Regions from separate parts of the Homo sapiens genome. Here region 1 is linked to region 2. Evidence: promoter capture Hi-C in human tissues and cell types (Jung and others, 2019). All regions are on one chromosome and are shown on one strand. Each heading gives the region's core, a stretch centred on a gene start or on the middle of the fragment in contact. The rest is flanking DNA. Distances are from core to core; before and after follow the strand shown.

Evidence for each region. The method cuts DNA at HindIII sites, captures the fragments that hold promoters and counts their contacts. A contact is called where the count stands out against the background at its distance.
Region 1: a fragment that was not itself captured here is called in contact with the fragment with the promoter of PSG9 in region 2 in 8 of the 25 tissues and cell types used here (H1 embryonic stem cells, aorta, bladder and 5 more).

Annotation. Positions count from the first base shown.
Region 1 is chr19:43,310,524-43,313,485 of GRCh38, reverse strand. No RefSeq gene overlaps it. Among named protein-coding and RNA genes, the nearest start is that of LINC03078, 20 kb to the left of the region's middle. The HindIII fragment of the contact is 6,408 bases long and covers 1-2,962 here.
Region 2 is chr19:43,268,204-43,270,959 of GRCh38, reverse strand. PSG9 (pregnancy specific beta-1-glycoprotein 9) reads left to right here and starts at 1,430. Exons shown (of 6, transcript NM_002784.5): 1 at 1,430-1,592. The coding sequence starts at 1,529. The HindIII fragment of the contact is 8,927 bases long and covers 1-2,756 here.

The DNA of each region.
Region 1 (2,962 bases), core at 447-2,946, 42 kb before region 2:
TAATTTTTGTATTTTTAGTAGAGACGGGGTTTCACCAAGTGGCCAGGATGTTCTCAATCTCTTGACCTCATGATCTGCCCGCCTCGGCCTCCCAAAGTGCTGGGATTACAGGCATGAGCCATTGCGCCTGGCCCATCCCTACACTATTCTAAGTAAAATTCCATATAGTAATCAGTAGTTCACTGTCTTAAATTTAGAGGATGACTTCTGGGCATGTCTTTTAGTGGAAAACAGCCTGACCTGTTTGCCTTTGAGTGGGAGGACCCCCACAGTGGGCAGAAGCAACAATACAGATGGACAGTTCTGTATCAAGGGTTTGCAGATTCACCAAACCCTTTTAGTCATGCCTTAGAGAAAGTCATAGAGAGGGCTGCTATCCCAAAACAGCTATGTTTACTTAACACATGGATGATATTCTTATACCTGGAGAGGATATAGAGAAAGTAAATAAGTACACCATCTATTTTCTAAATCATTTATACACTGAAGGGCTACGAGTCTCAAAAGAGAAGCTCCAATATGTAGAACCAGAAGTCAAATACATGGGCCATTTAGCACCAGCAAAAGAAGAATTGGTCCTGAGCGAGTAGAAGGAATTCTGTCCCTGCCACTGCCCTGGATCAAACAAGAACTTAAAAAGTTTGTAGGATTAATTAGATACTGCCGATTATGGATCGACTCCTATGCATTAAGAAGTAAATTATTATATGAAAAGTTAGCTAATAAGGGGCCTGACCCCCTTATGTGGTCCTCTAAAGAAGTAGATCAAATTAATAAACTGAAGCATAGACTAATGTCTGCTCCAGTTTTAGCTCTGCCTTCTCTTAAGAAGCCCTTCCACCTTTTTGTTAATGTAAGCAATGGAGTAGCCTTAGGGGTGCTCACTCAAGAACACGGAGGCCGGTGACAACCAGTAGCTTTTCTGTCTAAGATTTTAAATCCTGTTGCCAGTGGGTGGCCCCAGTATATTCAATCTATTGCAACCACAGCCATATTAGTAGAAAAAAGTAGAAAAATAACCTTTGGGGGGTATTTGACCGTGAGCACATCTCATCAAGTCAAGACCATTTTGAGCCAAAAAGCAGGAAGCTGGCCCACTGATTCCAGAATTTTAAAATATAAGGCTATTCTGTTAAAAAAAAAAGGATGATTTAAATGACTTAACCATAACAACAGATAACTCACTCAACCCTGCAGGGTTCTTGACGGGAAATCCGTTGCTACAGACAGAACACTTGTGCCTCAACTTAATTGACTACCATACAAAAGTCCAGCCAGATTTAGCTGAGGCCTCTATAGATCGGGGCAACACCTATTCATAGACAAGTCCCCCTGGGTGTTTAATGGGGAATAACACAGTGGATATGCAGTAGTAGATAGAGAGACACTCGAAGAAATTAAATCAGGATGGTTACCCAATAGCTATTCTGCTCAAGCTTGTAAATTATTTGCCTTCAGTCAGGCCTTAAAATATTTAAAGGATCAGATAGAAACTATCTACACAGATTCTAAGTATGCCTTTAGGGTAGCACACACATTTGGGAAGATTTAGGCTGAACAAGGTCTTATAAATAGTAGGGGCCAAGAACTTGCTCATAAGTCATTAGTCATGTCTTAGATAATCTCCAGCTACTAAAGTAGATAGCCATCATGCACATTCCTGGACATCAACATGATTTTTCCCTTAAGAGCCGAAGGAATAACCTTGCAGATCAGATGGCCAAAAAGGCTGCAGTCTTAGATATGCCCATTTTTCATTTAACTCCCCACCTTCCTTCTCCTACTGTTGTGCCTATCTTCTCCCTGGCTGGGAAAGAAAAATTAGTTGAAATCCCAAAGCAAAAAAAAAAAAAAATTCATAAGAAAGCTGCATACTTCCAGATCAAAGAGAGATGCTATCTAAACCCTTTATGAGGGAAGTATTATCCCATTTACATCAAGGGACTCACTGGGGTCCCCAGGCCCTATGTGACATGATTCTCAGAGTCTTTAGGTGTATTGGCATTTATATTCTAGACAGGCAGATCACAAATGGCTGTCTCATCTGTAAGAAAGCTGACAAACAAGCTGAAAGGAAATTGCCTTTCGGAGGAAGAACTCCGGAGTTAAGACCATTCCAAAACGTCCAAGTCGATTATACTAAAATGCCACCCATTAGTCGGCTAAAACACCTGCTAGTAATAATTAATTACCTTAACCACTGGGTAGAAGCCATCCCCTTTTCGAGGCAACTGCCAATAATGTGGTAAAACCATTAATTGAGCATATTATACCCAAGTTTGGAATAATAGAAAATATTGACTCAAACAATGAAACCCATTTTGCTGCACATATTATTAAAAAGCTGGCCCAAGTGCTAGACATAAAATGGGAATATCATATTCCCTGGCATCCCTTATCCTCCGGACAAGTAGAAAGAATAAATCAAACCCTTAAGAATCATCTGACTAAATTAATTCTAGAAACTCATTTACCATGGACCAAATGTCTTCCCATTGCCTTATTAAGGATCAGGACAGCTCCCCAAAAGGATACAGGCCTGTCTCCATATAAAATGTTATATGGATTGCCTTATTTACATTCCTCAGCTAATGTTCCTATGTTTGAAACTAAGGATCAGTTCCTCAGAAATTATATACTTGGTCTCTCCGCTACCTTTTCTTCTCTTAAGATAAAAGATCTCTTAGCACAGACACCACCGCTAGAATTTCTAGCTCACCAGCACTAACCCAGGGACCATGTTCTCATCAGAGGGTAAAAAGAAGGGAAACTTGTGCCCGCCTGGGAAGGCCCTTATCCTGTACAGTTGACCACCAAGACTGCCATCCGCACAGCCAAGAGAAGATGGACCCACCATACTTAAGTCAAGAAATCATCTTCCTCATCAGAATCATAGGTTAGTGTACCGGGATCAAGCCTTAACAAGTTAAAGTTAAAAAAAACCAAAAGCTTAATTTCCATA
Region 2 (2,756 bases), core at 181-2,680:
CATCAACTCTTTCTGTCACTGCTCCCTAAATGCCTGCCCCTGCTCCATCTGTCCTGTTCTCTGGGGCTTCCCAGGCCAAGCCTAGCGCCGACACAGAACAGCGGCTGCCTGAGGGCCCACAGCCTCCCCGGGAATCAGCCAGGCACCCTGTCACCTGCCTGCCCCCTGCACCCCAGGGGGCTCAGAGAGCGTGTGATGGTCATTCACAGGTACCATCCGGGATGTGGCCACCTACCCCCAGCTGTCCCTTGGGAAGACAGACCTCTCCTGTGTACTTGCGTGGAGAAGGGCGGTGTTATTGCTCTTTGCTCCCAGAACACAACTCACCCCCACCCGCCCTCTCAGGTGTGAGCAACGTCCCTCCAGAGAGCCTCTCTGGTCACTGCCTGTTCCTCCTCTACAGACAGCAGCTTGGCCAGGTCAAAACCCTCAGGACAGACCCCTGGGTGTGTCAGCACATGGAGGGCTGAGCCCATCATGGCCACGGAGTAAGTCGGGATGAATCTCTCCAGCTCTGAACCCCTGCTCTGTCCCAGGCTCCCCCTCCTGCGTCTCAATGAGCCATGTCCCGCGGGGTTCCTGGGTAACTCCCCACTTCCTCCTGCACCACCACGGGGAAGGTGTGGTGACCACAGGACAATCAGCTGGGCAGAGAAGAGAGGACATCAAAGATGGTCAGGGAGAACATGAGAAACCCTGAGCTCCAGCTCAGCCGCCAGACCCCAGGGAGCCATAGACTGACAGAGAACTGTCCCTTTGACTATGGGACTCACAGCCCCCACTGAGCAACCAGCACAGGCCTCTCCTCCTAAGAGGCATGAGAGATTCACCCTGCACACCTCCAGGAAGGACAGTTTCCTCTGGGACACCCAGGTCCTGAAAGTCCATCCTTGGAAGCTGCAGTCAAGCTTGACACGATTAGAGAAAGGAAGGGTCCCTCTCACCAGGCAACACACAGCTCACCCACAGCACAATGGGGTGTCACTGTGACAGGGACCTGGTGCATCTCCAGCCTCCTGCACTGAAGGGGAGAGCCAGATGGGGATGAAAGAGGGTAAAAGGCATGAATGTGCACCCCAACCCAGAGCCATGGGGACAGCAGGAGGCTGAGGCCCAGGACTGTGCTTGCCCAACCTGCAGGGTATGTGCCTGACTGTGTGGGTCTGTGTGTGTCTCTTCTGTGTGTGTGTGTGTGTGTGTGTGTGTGTGTGTGTGTCTGCACAAAGTGTGTGTTGAGGTTTGGTGAAAGAATCACTGCTGAAAAAGGCAGAGGCCTCCACAACTCCCAGGGACCTGAAACACAGACAAAAGGAAAAACAGAAGGAGGGACAAGGAGGCAGGACTGAGAGAGAAGGGGACAGAGAGGTGTCCTGGGACTGACCCCGCCCATGAGCTTGAGAAGTGCTCCTGCCCCGGGAAGAGGCTCAGCACAGAAGGAGGAAGGACAGCACAGCTGACAGCCGTGCTCAGACAGCTTCTGGATCCCAGGCTCATCTCCACAGAGGAGAACACACAGGCAGCAGAGACCATGGGGCCCCTCCCAGCCCCTTCCTGCACACAGCGCATCACCTGGAAGGGGCTCCTGCTCACAGGTGAGGAGAGAACTTCCTGGGAGAGGACAGGGGGAGGAAGCGGAGTGACTGGATGGGGTCTCCTGGAGAGGATGGGGTTGTAAAATAAAAGAAGCCAGCTCTTAGGGAGGCTGAGGTGGGTGGATCACGAGATCAGGAGTTCAAGATCAGTCCGGCCAATGCAGTGAAGCCCAGTCTCTCCTAAAAATATAAAAAATTAACCAGGTATGGTGGTGTACTCCTGTAATCCTAGCTACTCGGGAGGCTGAGGTGGGAGAATCATGTGAACCCGGGAGGCAGAAGTTGCAGCTAGCCGAGATACCGCCACTGCACGCCAGCCTGGGCGACAGTACGAGACTCCGTCTCAAAAAAAAAAGAAAAAAAGGAAAGAAGGCTCTGTTGCAGCCTGGATAGGGGAAAATACACCAGAGAGGGACAGGGGTCAAAAGAGGAAAGTCACATTGAACCGGAATTGGTAAGAGGTAGGAAAATCTTAAGTGTTCTGTTTTCCTGATTAATCATCCGGGGCCACCACATTTTGAAAAATGATAATAATAACTATATCAGATGACACTTCAAATAAAAATATAAGCAGGACATGAAACACTATCCTCAGCAAAAAACCTCAACAATTGGGGGAAAAAAAAACACCCAGGGCATGGAGGGCCCTGAGAACTCTCACATCTACAGGAGTCTGCAGCCTGTCCCAGGCACTGGGGTGCAACCAGGATCACAAAAGTCCCTGTCCTCACGGAGCTCACGCTGTCATGGGGAGGAAGACAGACATGCGAAGAGATGTAGAATGTGAGATCAGGTGTTGACAAGAACCCTGGAGGGAGCAGAGCAGGGAAAGGTCAGAAAGGGAAGACCCAGGGTCTCTGAAGGAGGTGTCAGGAAAGAAGTCTAAGGATGCCCTGATGTGAGCAGGACCTGAGGGCAGTGTGGAGGGGGCCGTGTGGACCCCTGGGGAAGAGGATTCCAAACAGAAAAATGCCAAGGTCAGAAGTGTTGAAGGAATGGGGGTCATGCTGCTGACCTTGACCTAGTAGGACAGTAGGACACACACACATACACATACACAAACACACATGCCCGTTTTTTGTGTGTGTTTGTTTGTATGTGTGCGTGTGTGTATCTTCAAGGCTGAGGATGGAAGAGACCTTCTCAGGACCCAGGGCCCCATCT